Regions from separate parts of the Homo sapiens genome. Here region 1 is linked to region 2. Evidence: promoter capture Hi-C in 16 types of primary human blood cells and fetal thymus (Javierre and others, 2016). All regions are on one chromosome and are shown on one strand. Each heading gives the region's core, a stretch centred on a gene start or on the middle of the fragment in contact. The rest is flanking DNA. Distances are from core to core; before and after follow the strand shown. Region 1 has its middle 9.6 kb from the start of OR51D1. Region 2 holds the start of OR52J3 (olfactory receptor family 52 subfamily J member 3).

Region 1 (7,689 bases), core at 3,875-6,374, 420 kb after region 2:
GTTTGAAGTCAGGTAGCATGAAGCCTCCAGCTTTATTCTTTTTGCTTAGGATTGCCTTGGCTATACAGGTTCTTTTTTGGCTCCATATGAAATTTAAAGTAGTTTTTCTAGTTCTGTGAAGAAAGTCAAAGTTAGCTTGATGGGAATAGCATTGAATCTATAAATTACTTCGGGCAGTGTGGCCATTTTCACAATATTGATTCTTCCTATCCATGAGCATAGAATTTTTTTCCATTTGTTTGTGTCCTCTCTCATTTCCTTGAGCAGTGGTTTGTAGCTCTCCTTGAAGAGGTCCTTCAGGTTCCTTGTAAGTTGTATTCCTAGGTATTTTATTCTCCTTGTAGCAATTGTGAATGGGAGTTCACTCATGATTTGGCTCTCTGTTTGTCTATTATTGGTGTATAGGAATGCTAGTGATTTTTGCACATTGATTTTGTATTCTGAGACTTTGCTGAAGTTGCTTATCAGCTTAAGGAGTTTTGGGGCTGAGACAATGGGTTTTTTTTTTTTTTCTTTTTTCTTTTTTTCTTTTTCTTTTTTTTTTGGCAGAGCTAGCTGAGGTTTTATTTTGGACCAAAAAAACAAAAACAAAAACAAAAACAGCAATGGAATTGTTTTGTAGCTGGAGGCATGGGCAAAGGGGTTTTCTAAATATACAATCATGTCATCTGCAAACAGAGACAATTCGACTTCTTCTCTTCCTATTTGAATACCTTTTATTTCTTTTTCTTGCCTGATTGCCCCAGCCAGAACTTCCAATACTATGTTGAATATGAGTGGTGAGAGAGGGTATCCTTGTCTTGTGCCAGTTTTCAAAGGGAATGCTTCTAACTTTTGCCCATTCCATATGATATTGGCTATGGGTTTGTCATAAATAGCTCTTATTATTTTGAGATATGTCCCACCCATCAATACCTAGTTTATTGAGAGTTTTTAGCATGAAGGGGTGTTGAATTTTACAGAAGGCCTTTTCTGCATCTATTGAGATAATCATGTTGTTTTTGTCACTGGTTCTGTTTGTGTGCTGGATTACACTTATTGATTTGTGTATGTTGAGCCAGCCATTCTTTTGCATTTGCTGAGGAGTGTTTTACTTCCACTTATGTGGTCGATTTTAGAATAAATGCTATGTGGTGCTAAGAAGAATGTATATTCTGTTGATTTGGGGTGGAGAGTTCTGTAGATGTCTATTAGGTCCGCTTGGTCCAGAGCTGAGTTAAAGTCCTGAATATCCTTGTTAATTTTCTGTCTCATTGATTTGTCTAATATTGACAGTGGGGTGTTAAAGTCTCCCACTATTATTGTGTGGGAGTCTAAGTCTCTTTGTAGGTCTCTAAGAACTTGCTTTATGAATCTGGGTGCTCCTGTATTGGGTGCATATATATGTTTAGGATAGTTAGCTCTTCTTGTTGCATTGATCACTTTACCATTATGTAATGGCCTTCTTTGTCTCTTTTGATCTTTGTTGGTTTAAAGTCTGTTTTATCAGAGACTAAGATTGCAACCCCTGCTTTTTTTTTTTCTTTTTTTTTTTTGCTTTCCCTTTGCTTGGTAAATATTCCTCCATCCCTTTATTTTGAACCTATGTGTGTCTTTGCACATGAGATGGGTCTCCTGAATACAGCACACTGATGGGTTTATCCAATTTGCCAGTCTCTGTCTTTTAATTGGGGCATTTAGCCCCTTACATTTAAGGTTAATATTGTTATGTGTGAATTCGGTCCTGTCGTCATGATGCTAGCTGCTCATTTTGCACATTAGTTGATGCAGTTTCTTCATAGTGTCATTGGTCTTTACATTTTGGTATATTTTTGCAATGGCTGATACTGGTTTTTCCTTTCCGTATTTAGTGCTTCCTTCAGAAGCCTTCCTTCAGGCCAGGTGGTGACAAAATCCCTCAGCATTTAATTGTCTGTAAAGGACAATGGAACAGAATAGAAATTCCAGAAATAAGACTGTAAAGCTACAACCATCAGATCTTTGACAAACCTGACAAAAACAAGCAATGGGGAAATGATTCCCTATTTAATAAATGGTGCTGGGACAACTAGCTAGCCATATGCAGAAAATTGAAACTGGACCCCTTTGTTATTACCATATACAAAAGTCAACTCAAGATGAATTAAAGACTTAAATGTGAAACCCAAAACTATAAAAACCCCAGAAGAAAACCAAGGTAATACCATTCGTGACATAGGAACAGGCAACTATTTCATACAAATACCAAAAGCAATTGCAACAAAAGCAAAAATTAACAAATGGGATCTAATTAAACTAAAGAGCTTCTGCACAGCAAAACAAATAATCGACAGAGTAAACAAACAACTTACAGAATGGGAGAAAACTTTTGCAAGCTATCCATCTGACAAAGGTCTAATATTGAGCATCCATAAGAAACTTAAACAAATTTACAAGAAAAAACAACCCCATTAAAAAGTGGGCAAAGGACATGAACAGACATTTCTCAAAAGAAAACATACATGTAGCCAACAAACATGAAAAAAAGCTCAACATCACTGATCATTACAGAAATGCAAATCAAAACCACAATGAGATACTATCTCACACCAGTCAGAATGGCTATTAATAAAATATCAAAAAATAACAGATGCTGGCGAGGTTGTGGAGAAAAGGAACACTTTTATGCTGTTGGTGGGAATGTAAATTAGTTCAACTATTTTGGAAGATGGTGTGGCAATTCCTCAAAGACCTAGAGGCAGAAATTCCTTTTGACCCAGCAATCTCATTACTGGGTATATACCCAAAGGAATATAAATCATTCTATTATAAAGACACATGCACATATATGTTCATTGCAGCACTATTCACAATAACAAAGACAAGGAATCAAACTAAATGTCCATCAACAGTGGGCTGGATAAAGTAAATGTGGTACATAGACACTACGGAATAGGATGCAGCCATAAAAAGGAACGAGATCATATCCTTTGCAGGGACATGGATGGAACTGGGGGCCATTATCCTTAGCAAACTAATGCAGGAACAGAAAACCAAATACCACATGTTCTCTCTTATAAGGTAGCTAAACGATGAGAACACATGGATATATGGGGGAAACAACACACACTGAGGCCTGTTGGAGGGTTTGGGGTGTGAGAAGGGAGAGGATCAGCATAAGCATATCTGACTAGTAAACCCAAGCAAAATTGTCTCAATTATTTTTAATACTGACAATTCTGAAGACATTCCTAAATAGGAATTTTAACAATAATTTTAAAACTAGCTTTATTTGCTGTATGTTATCTTAAATCACATAGAAATATCATATAAACAGACAGAGGCACATCTTATAGCTTTCATTAAGATGTTTCATTTGTCAACTTCCAAACAGTTTTTATTTTCCCCATTCAGACTATCAGTCTTCCAATGGCTTGTTTCATTGCCCTACGCAACTGTTAGCTAGGCAGTCCTAAATTTGCACTTCTAAAACGATGACTCCTAGGTGAAACAAGGTGGAAAATTTGTATCTTAAAAGTACAGAGCTGAGACTTCAGACCTAAATATCCTACCATCATTTCCTCAAGCCAAAGAAAAAGCATGTAGGTAAAAGCCCATTTAAGACAAGATGGCCAGGAAAAGCACCTTAAACAAAAGTAAGACTTGTTATGTAAATGAAATACAATGGTAAGAATTTCTAGTGGCTCAGTCCTTCCTCTCTTTGGTGTACAGAGGCAAACACCCTCACAAATGGACAGTTCCTTTATAGATGTAAATTTCTTTTCAAAAGCATTTCAAAATATCCACCTAAATGCCAAAAGGTATATTTTGAAGACTGATTTTGTTCCATAGGTGGTCATTTTAACTTAGCTTCTGTTTTTTACCTAAAATTACTGCATTTAGGGTGAAGCCCATTAAGGAATAGTGCAAAGAAAGCATTTGCTATGTGTAGACTCATGCATAGCTCTGAAAAAAAAACAGGAAGCCTACTTTACCTGAGGGTCTACCTTTTACAAACACTTTATCCAGCTTTCTCTTCACCTTCAGGGCAGGGTAGTAACCAGACTAAAAGGTTAGAAGACTTAATTTTTCTTATCAATTAGTTGCTTAAGCTTTTTGTCTTTTATAAAGACTTTTCTTAAAAACAATAAAAACAATGAAATCTTTTTAGAAGCATCTGCACATCAATAGGCATCCCTGGATGAGCCTAATTAGACAGCTCTAATTTTCAAATGCACTTTTCAAAATGGAGTGTTGTTCATTTGGAGCTTTCTATTATAATTTTTCATTATTTTTAGTAAGATTTTACGACTTTTGTCAATGTGTGCTGCTTCCCGGGCCTAATACTTAATACTATAGGTAAGTGTCGCTAGAAGATGGAGTACTCAGTTCTTCAGTAATTAAGCATCCCATTTTTACATTTATTCTTGGCTTAATTCTCAGATCCCCTTGATCAACTTAGCCAATGATTTTTTCCCTACCTAAAAGCACAAAAGAAATAGAAGATACAAATCCCTGCAAATTTTCGAAAGCCACAGTTTACACCCCCTGAGGTACTGATACAGGAGTTAAGAAGGAATTACTTAGGCAGATAGCAAGGGAACCCCCAAATCATTTTCTAACAAAGAGCAGCCTGCAAGCTGGGAGCTTGCATGGGTGAATGCCGCAGAAACTGAGGACTAGACATTTTCATAATGGTGGCTCCATCTTCCCTTCTCTGCCAGCCGCGTGTATCCTAAGGAGCAGACCAGATGGGGCTGATAACTGAAAAGCCCATTTGCATAAGATTAGGGTAAGGTGACCAGCCTTCCCCATGTGCCATGTAAATGTCATACCTAATTGAACCAATCTGTGAGCCCTACATAAATCAGACACCACCTCCTCATGCCAGACTAAAACAATCGGTGCATTCCCTGCCAGCTGGTGTTTTTTTCTTCTCCATCCTTTCCGCATGGTCTTTTCTGCTTGGAGAACCCTTCCTCTATGGAGGAAGCTGTTCCTCTTTCTCTTCTCTTCTACCTATTAAACCTCTGCTCCTAAATTCCACCTGTGTCTGTGTCCTAAATTTTCTTGGCATGCGACAACGAACCCCTGGCATTATTCAAAGGCTTCTGGACTGAACCCAGCCTCTGACAGTCCGTCCAGGTGTTGGTAAAGGATCTCCAGCTATCCTGTCACAAAACTTTCCTTTCTTTTCTATCCATGGTCATTATGTCTACTATGCTCTCCGTATATGCAATGTGCAGGAATTTTTACAATTCAGGGGAACAGTTCTGTTAGGAAAGATCGGCAAACATGCAGTAACTCAATAAACGTCTTTACCGTTTCTCTGGTGAGTACAAGGTATTACTAGGCCAACAGCGCCACCTAGTGGAAACAGAAATCCTCTTCATGAGGCACATTGTGAGTCCTATGCCATAAACTGCGGTGTCCCAATCCTGGCTTTTCGCACTGCTAGAAAGGCTTCAACTGTGAATGGGAAAGCTCTGCCTTCAACAATTAGGAGCAAAATGTCCTCTGTAGCCAAATTTTAGCCTCAATACTGTCCCATCAGCAGATAAATGGCCATTCAGTCCCTATGTTCTCTTAAGGCACCTATTCTGCCTCCAATTAGAGTGGTACCTAACTAGTAAGGGGATTTTAAGTTTGGAAGTTAGCCAAAACCATTCTATAAAGGTAAATGCTTCAGCACCGGCCATAATAGCAAGATACAGAGTTTAATCTAGCATGCCCCCCCCCCGCCCATTAAAGGGGCCTTGCCCAACTATTACATAGTTTTTCTTGAGATCCGTTTTTCAGGGAGCCAGGCGGCTCACACAAGTCTAGGAAGTCAAAAGTCACCCAGGACTAGAGCCACCTGGGTGAGCATGACTAGCCCTAATTGCTTAGTTCCTCTGGAGTGCATTCTGAAGCACAAGGACTTCTGTGACCCAGAAACTTTAACAAAAATGTGGCTCATTTTCTTTTGCACAAGGGCATGACCTTTTTACTAGACCTCTGCAAGCATTGCAAAATAAACCCAGCTCTTTTAGCAATCATATCAGGCAGGTCCAAAAGAAAATAATTCTCTAAAATTAGAGAAGCAACTCCCAGGGGAACTATCTGAGGCTCCCCTTTATTTGGGGCCCCTTCAAGTTCCCTTCTCATTACAAGATCTTAGACAAATAAAGGGAGACTTAGGTCAATTTTCTAACGACCCTGATAGGTATATAGAAGCTTTCCAAAATTTAACTTAGGTATTTGACTTCTCATGGAGGGATGTTATGCTGCTTCTAAGCCAAACCCTAACCACAGCTGAGAAGCAGGCAATTCTGTAGGCAGCAGAGAAATTTGGAGATAAGCAATATGTCTTCTATAGCAGGCCTAAAAGGAAAAGCGAAAATAGAATGCAGGCCCAGGACCCCATAAGCCTGCTGTTCAAGCCAGCCCAACAACATAATCAGTAACAAACTTGACTACAGGCCTCCATCTTGTTTCAGGTCCTTGGGAACATGACCTGGAACCACATGGCAATACTTTGTTTTAGTCTCCACCATTTTACAATGGTGGCTGTCTTCTTGTGCTAAGTCAGTTCCTGGGTGAGGACCACACAATCAGATAAGCCAGTTTGTCAATCTAGGTGGTGCCAGCTGATCCATCAAGAGCAGGGTTTACAAAATATATTAAGGACTAATCTTGAGAGCAGTTAAGGGAGGGTCAGAATCTTGTAGCCTCAGCTCCATGACTCCTAGGCCATGGTTTCTAATCTTATGGCTAGTTTCTTGGTCTGCTCCCCAGGCAAGAGGTAAGCCTATCTTAAGAAGGGGCTGTTACCATCTTTGTTTTAGACTATAAACTATAAACCCAGCTCCTCCAAAAGTTGGTTTGGCCTATGCCCAGGGATAGGCAAGGATAGCTTGGGAGCTGGAAACAAAATGGAGTTGGTTGGGTCAGATCTCTTCCACTGTCTCAGTAATAATTTTGCAATGATAGTTTTAAAAGCTGCCTATCACCCCTTTGAAAACACCATATACACTTGAGGTTAAGTCATAACCTAATTAAGGCTTGTTGGTTTCACCTGTGAGATTACTTTTTGTAACGTTCAAAAGCTGAAAATCTTAATTGCTTCGCATGGCTAAAGTCTAGTAACAAGAGATTTAAAAGGATTTTCTTAAAAAGCTCTCAGCTTAATTAAAAGTGGATATTCAAGTTATAGGTATATTTAAAAGGCCTTTATGTTTTTCTCTTCTTGGATCTTGTCTTTCTGGAAAAAGTTTTTTTTCTTCTCAGTCAACTGAATTATTTTTCTCCATTTTTTGGCTTGCCACTCTTAATGCACACATAAGACGCCCTAAGATAACTTCTGGTAGCATGGAACTACGAGGCACCACAGACCCTGTTTTGGGAAAAAAAAAAAAAAAAAAAACCCTGTTTTCCTCGTGAAACCACAGGAATTAAAAGCAAATAGTTTAATCTGTAAGAAGTAAAAATAGTCTTAAGGATTATCGGTAAAATGCAAGTGTCATCAAAATGCAATAGGTGGTCTAAATCATTCAATTTAGATACTAGGTTTGCTAAATGGTTCGAGGTTGTATACTGCCTGCTTTACAGTTAGGTAAGGCACAGGGAGTTAGAATCTGGAAAGAGACAAGCCTTATCTGCACTTCTGTCTGGGTCCTAAGCGCCACACATGGCACATAATTAAAATCGCTTACTAACCAGGTTTTTCACCAAAAGTAACGGTTGCTAAGA
Region 2 (7,581 bases), core at 3,444-5,943:
TAACAATTCCACTTCTATGTATATACCCTGGAGAACTGAAAACACATGTCATGCAAAAGGTTGTATACAAACGTCCATAGAAGTATTACTCATAGTAGCCAAGCCTTGAAAATAACCTAAATGTCCATCAATTGATGACTGTATACATAAAATATAGTATAACTGTACAATTAGATATTATGCATCAATAAAAAGGAATAAAGGTCTGATGCACGCTACAATATGGTTGGGAATAGAAAACATACTGCATGATGTGTGATAGAAGTCACACATTTTACATGAGTCTTTTTATTTGAAATGTTCAGAAGAGACAAATTAATAGACCACAGAAAGTGGATTCATGGTTTTCTAGAGCTGGAAACATTATTGACTGATAAATAGGTATGATATTTCACTTCGAGGTCATGAACAAATCCTATATCAATTGCAGTGCAGCAGCGAAACTCTCTGAATATACTAAAGTTCATTTAATTGTATATTTAAATAGGTAAAATATAGGATGTGTTAATTTTATCTCAATCAAGTTGTATTAAAAATCAAATGGTCATATTTTACAGGCTTATTTCTGGTTTTTCTAGTACTTTCAATTTATCTGTGTCTCTATCCTCCTGCCACTACCACATAGACTTGATAATTATAACAATAAAAAAGTATTAAAACAGAAAAACTGATAGTTTCACTTTATTATGTTTATTTTGAAAATTATTCCAGCTATTCCAGGTACTCTGATTTTTTTATGCTTAGGAAGTAAAAGTGCTTGATTAATTTTAATATTTTTAATTGTTTCCTTTTTTTTGGAAAATTTTGTGGCTATGTATAGTAGGTGTATATGTTTATGGGGTACATGAGATGTTTTGATACAGGCATTCAATGTGTGATAATCACATCATGGAAGATAGAGTTTCAGAATATAAGGACCTACAGAATACCAAACATTATTTATTAAAAAAATTACAAAGCTACACTCAATAAAATGAAATATTATAACATCAAAATGTTTTCCAAAGAACAGAGAAAAAATATTTCAAAAGCATGAAAAATGTTTGGAATTATATTTTTTCATTACAGAACTACTTGCTAGAAAAAAAAAGTTGAACAATTAATTTAGAAAGTGGATAGAATAAAACTTTGTTCCAAAGTTCTATAAACCTTTGTCCTGTTATTAAATTATAAAAGTAAGTGAAGACACATTTAGACATAAAATTATAATCAGTTATTACCAGAACAGGAGGTAATTGGCTAAAATGTGGGGGCTGTTGTGTCTGGCATCATGGCTGGGGTGGGGAATATTAGATGTGTCCTTATACTCAAAGGAAAATAAATTGTTCACCAAAAAGACACCTGCACTTGTATGTTTATTGCAGCACTATTCACAACAGCAAAGATACAGAATCAACCCAGGGGTTCATCAACAGCAGATGAGATAAATGAAATGTGATGCATACATATACACAATGGAATAGTACACAGCATAAAACGTACAAAATTATGTCCTTTGCGGCAACATGGATGCAGCTGGAGGCCATTATCCTAATCGAATTAATGAAGAAACACAAAAGCAAATATTGCATGTTCTGATTCATAAGTGAAAGCTAAGCACTGGGTCACATGGACAGAAAGATGGGAACAATAAACATTGGAAACTCCAAAAGAGGGGAGGAAGAGACGGAGGCAAGTGTTGAAAAACTACCTATCAGCTATTATGTTCACTACATGGGTGACAAGATAATTAAAAGCCTAAACCTCAGCAATATTCACTATACTTATGCAACAAACCTGCACATGTTCCATCTGAAGCTAAAATAAAATAAAATTTGAAAAAAAACATATATATATATTTTAGTGTTTTTATTTCTATTTTTAAACCTGCAAGTAAGATTCCAGATGGCAGCAACATGAGCGAGATAGATGTAGAAGAAAAATAGCAAAAGTTAAAAGAGGATTAATATGTTTGTTTCTTCAGAGTAGGGTAGTTACAAATTAGTTTTTATTAGAAAAAAAGAAAGATGAAATTGGTGAGGTTAATTTTTTAATAATACCCAATAGAAAAACAGATAACGGATATGCAATTTTTAAATATCAGTGGAGGAAATTTTTTATTCATAAAGGGAACTAAAATAACAAGAATCATGAAAGTGAAAAAAAAGGAAAGCAACAGGAAATGTAAAATCAGAAAGTGATTAAAAAACAAATATCAAGAAAGCAGAAATATGTTCTGATGGGTTGTAAACCTGCTACCTAAGAATTCTACTTTAAAGAATAAAACCTGGATAAATTAACTTAAAATGTAGAAACAAATAAATACAAAGATGTGCAGCATGTTTTGTAATTAAAAATAATAAGATGAATTATCTATTAGAAAATAAAAATATAAATGAAATCAATGTTACAAAACAAAACATGGAGTACATTAATCTATATAAACAAATAACAAATGATTAACAAAAATACTGTGATTGGTTGTAAATCTAAAAATTTGCAATGTGAAATCAGAAAACACACATGCTAGCCTTTGCCTCTGGAAATTGGGAGAGAAATCTGCTGGGGCAGTGTTAAAGGTGATATTAGCTTTCATGCTGTGTGCATGTTATTTAAACATCCTCTTTGAGATGAGCGCAATATAAAAAGTTGTTAATTTTTGGTATCAGGAACAAAGCTATTTGTTACATTTTTGCTTTATATTTTTAATAACCTACATAAGACAAAATGAGTATAATTGTAAAAAACAATGTGACAAGTTTGATAATTCAAAAGGTAATTAATTGCTTGGTCTTTGGAAATCTTATTAAATAAATTGAAAACCTTCAGCATCATGTGAAATGTGGCTATCCATAGCTAGATATGACATAGTCTATATTAAAGTCTGTGGGAGAACAAATGACAGATTACAGGTTGGAAAGAGAGGTCTTGGATTTTGAAATAGAGTCTTTTAGGGTCAAATATAGATTGAGAGAATACTGGAAAAAGTGATAGGCAAAGACCTCCACATATCACAGACGTAAAAATGCTATACCTAACTGGTGCTTATGTTATGGTCATGAATTCCGAAAAGCAATCAGTGATAAGTTATGCTGGTATTACTGATAAATAGTTTTGAAATTGTGTGTTTGTTTTGGCTATCATTGCACTGAGTGTCATGTCTTTGGCATATGATTCCACTTGAAGCTACAGATTTGGCAAAGATTGTTTTGAACCCGTGAAATTTGCTTTGTAAGAGGACAACAGAATGCAAGCTCCATAGGGCCAGACATTGAATGAATATAAATTAAAGGAATCATAAAATGCATGATGCATGAATAAACAGAAGTAAGAGAAAAAGAATAAAAGGAAAAAAGAAAGAAAGGAAGAAAATAAGGAAAGAAAGATTAAAGGAATAAATAAAGTAGTTTACAGGGTAAATTTCCAGTGCCACATATCTCTCATCACTAGTCAAAAAACACTCAGTAAAATATGTTCTTTCCCCAGAAAAGCAGCAGCCTGTGCTAACAAGCATTCTTCACAAGGTCATGCAGTCAAAGGCCCCACAGTTCTCTCCCAGGATATCCCTTCCAGGATAGTTGGTCAGTCTTTGAACTTCAACTACAATGATGTTTCTGACAGTTTTAAAATCCATTATTAGTCAGCATCCAGGAACAAACCAACTTGTATTGCAAGTTGACAGCAATAAGTTAAGGATCAGGAGATATTCCTTAAGGCAAGAACATATCGGTCTTTATAGAAGGATCAAAGCCCTTAGTAAAATAACATGGTAAGAGTCTTATTTTTTAGTAAAAACATAGAGCACTCGTTCTCGAATCTGTTTGGTCCTCACCCCATAAATGATGGGGTTGAGAGAGGGTGGGATAATCAAATAGAGATTGGCAACAAGAATGTGAATGTAACCTGGTATTTGGTGTCCAAATCGATGAGTAAGGAAAGAGAAGACTGAAGGGATATAGAAAACACAGATGACTCCAACATGAGCGCCACACGTGCTTAGGGCTTTTAGCTGAGCATCATGTGATGGGAGGCGGAAGACAGCACGGAGAATGTAAACATACGAGATGCCAATGAGCACCAGGTTCAGAACAAAGAAAGAAACTACAAAAAGCCCATAGATACCATTGATACGAATGTTTCCACAGGACAATTTTGCAATGCCCATGTGCTCACAGTAGGAATGGGCTATTATGTGAGCCTGACAAAAGGGTAGGCGGTAGATAAGATAGACCATGGGAAGTGTAAGTAAAACGGGACGAATTACAATGCACATGCTAATGCCCACCAACACTTGGGATGTCAAGATGGTTGCGTAATGTAGTGGAGCACAGACGGCCACATAACGGTCAAAAGCCATAGCCAGTAAGACCTCAGCCTCCATGCCAGTGAAGGCATGGATCAGAAACATCTGGGCCACACAAGCTCCATAGTTAATCTCGTGAGCATCAAACCAGAAGATACCCAGCATGCGAGGCACAGAGGTTGTAGAAAGGGCCAAATCAATAGTGGAAAGAATGGCCAGGAAGTAGAACATGGGCTCCCGGAGAGTCTGTTCTACCTTGATGACTAGCAGAATGGTGGCATTGCCCAGCAAAGCCACAAGGTAAACAGAGCAGAAAGGCCCGGAGATCCACATGTGGAAGTCTTCCAGACCTGGGATTCCAATGAGGAAAAATGTGACTGGGTGAAATATGCTCTTGTTGTGATAAAACATTTTTCCAAATCACAGTGTAGGAGAACTTGCCACATGTAGAAGCAGCAGCTGGGGAGAGAAGATTGAATAAGAAGTTTGTGTTTCATTCAGTATATGCAGAGCAAAAAGAAAAGGTTATTTGGAGGGTCCTGTTACTGTGTTTTGTAATCTACAGTCATTTGAATAGATCAGTCTCAAATAACTTAATTCTTATGTTTACATAATGATTGTAGTATAATGTGTAAACTTACACATTAAAAATTGAAGGATTCTATGACATAGAGTCTGATATTTAACTGGAATAATTGAAGATGCCCTGTACCCTTTATTAGTCCCTTGGTTGAAGAGGAATGCCTGAAAAATCAAAGATACACACAAGCGAAATGCCGATTAATTCAGGAGGAGACAGACTAATGAGGACATGAAGTTACAGACACAGATGTACACATATTTTTATAATTAAAAACTGCAAAAGTTCTTCTAATGATTTGTTAATCATTTATTGATGTAGGGCACATGCCAAGATTAAGCCTAATATCCTATCAAAAAGACAGAAAGATAACATGAGAAATGTAGATATAACAAACAAAAGCGTAAACACCCTGGAATGCTTGCCCCAGGAGCAAACACAGGCTGGGTCACATACCACCACACATGAAAGAGCTCAGAAAGAAAATAATAAACCTGTTGAGGATTTTCACTGATTAAAGTACTTTCTCAAGAGCAACAAATTTTTCGGTGGCTCATTTTGGATTTCTATAGTGATGGTAGTTTCTAGTGGTATTTGAAAGCATCATTTACTCTTCACTCTATATTAGTTCTCTAACTAGTATATACTGGGTTTATACCTCCTGCCTGATTAAGTCACTTTTCAGGTAGGTAGAGACAACCTAGAAGACTCCTTTGGTTATGTATTTGGAGAAGATGTTTTTGATGACACAAAACTGGAATAAAAAGGTCTATTTGCAGATAAAATTACTTTCTGTAATTTTCTAAAGGAAATATATAAGGGTGCTCTTTCAATGCTTTTGAAATTATGAAGAAGCAACCACTCATAAGCTGAAATAATGAAATCAAACTTCTGTGGGTCTCCAACTTGTGGCAGAGTGGTTCAGGATAGAAGAAAGTAGCACAGACTCCTGTTTCACCATTTATGTAGCTCCATATTTCTGACAAGTATGTCAAAGTGGAAAATACATCAAGATAAAAAATAAAATAAATAATATACCCATTCTGAGGTGTGGAGGGGGGTAGAGATATAGAGAGCAAGAAAGAGAGAGAAAAGGAGAGAGAAAGAAATAAGCTGTATTTCTACAGAAGTCCATTTTATTCCTTATAACCCATAGGAAAGGCAGAACATATATTTTACCAATAAACTATATAATTGCTTTGAATAAATACATCTATTCCATGGGTCTTCTAGATCGTTTTTAAATTTTCAATCTCCATTTAAGAGTTTCAAAGGATTTTTATTCCATTAGAGTCAGAAATTGTACTACCTGATCAATATCAAGCCCAGCAAGCTCAGCAACCCTTGATCATTTCTCACTTATTTCAATGTAATACATACCTAAGTCAAGAGAAAATTCACCTGCCTTATTATGTCATAGAAATATAAGCTCAAGGGGAGTATCAAGCAGCATGGCTCTATAGCCTTGTCATTTTTACAGTCCAAGAAGAGTCGTTTTATATTAAGGCTTTAGTTGCTTAGAACATTAGGAAAATTGAGTTAGCTGGGTTTTCTACTATAATTGGCACCATGAGATTGAATCCTCTGAGATGGTTAACAAAATTTTTGACTCTGATCTAGGGAATAGAAGCCCAAAGAAAAGTGATGAGTATAGAAATGTTCCTACAAAAAGATGCAGTTGTGGGAGCAAAAACATCCAAATATTATTATTTAATATATGGCATACAGATAGATACATTTTATTTCTAAGTGAAATTTTACCACCAAATTCTGTGGGATGTTGCTTTCTAGATAAAATAGTCCTTGATCCATATTAACTACCTAAGTTAAAGCCTAATAACCTGGCATTGCAGACTCCACGTTCAATCTTAGCTCTCGTATTCATTTCAATCACCATATGTTCTGAGTTTATTAAATGTTTAGTCTATGGATTAAGATCCTTGAGCCTTTGGTCACACTGCCCTCTGTCCATGATTGTTTCTCTATATTCCCCCACTTGCCAATTTTTCATACTTATATCACAGAGGTCATAGAGATAATTAGTAAAAATATCTACTCATGAAATGAGTTTGCTTCAGATCAAACACTGAATTTCTCATGTATACTATCTGTGTCAATTTGAATGACTTTCTTATTATCTCTTTGTCTCAGTTTCCTCAATTGAAAAATTAAGAATGATAATAGTACCCATAGCTTATAATATTTTTGAGGAATAATTTAAGTTGTTAATATAATACACTTAAATACAATACTTAGCATGCTTAAATGATTTTAAATGTTTTTAAAATGCTTTAAATGATTTTAAAATGTTAGTTTTTGTTATCACATAACTCAGCTCATAACAACACCTTCTTCTTAGACATCTGATCTATGAAAACCATATGGAGAAAACTCTCATGTCACTAAGTCTATACATTTGGTGTGAAAGTTCTCATTTATTCTAACATTTTATCCCTCGTTTTTCAGTCAAATGTATATATATATTTCTCATTCTCACTAAAATAACATTATAATAAATGGGAGAATTACTATCTTTTTACTTCATGCGGGAGAAGATATCTTAAACAATACTGAAGATACAATCAAGTTTAAGATGTAAAGCACAGACTTAAAAACATAAAGTTAAATTTGTCATCTTACTCTTTAGTCTTTTTGATTATATCACACAAACTTTAAATTTAAACTTCTGAAAGTTTACGAATTCAAATACAGGCATACC

What was found. The method cuts DNA at HindIII sites, captures the fragments that hold promoters and counts their contacts. A CHiCAGO score of 5 or more calls a contact.
Region 1: a contact is called between a fragment that was not itself captured here and the fragment with the promoter of OR52J3 in region 2, in 1 of 17 cell types (erythroblasts). The highest score is 5.2, in erythroblasts.

Annotation. Positions count from the first base shown.
Region 1 is chr11:4,624,027-4,631,715 of GRCh38, reverse strand. No RefSeq gene overlaps it. Among named protein-coding and RNA genes, the nearest start is that of OR51D1, 9.6 kb to the left of the region's middle. The HindIII fragment of the contact is 2,104 bases long and covers 4,073-6,176 here.
Region 2 is chr11:5,043,638-5,051,218 of GRCh38, reverse strand. OR52J3 (olfactory receptor family 52 subfamily J member 3) reads right to left here and starts at 4,693. Exons shown (of 1, transcript NM_001001916.2): 1 at 3,758-4,693. The coding sequence starts at 4,693. The coding sequence ends at 3,758. The HindIII fragment of the contact is 8,727 bases long and covers 1-7,581 here.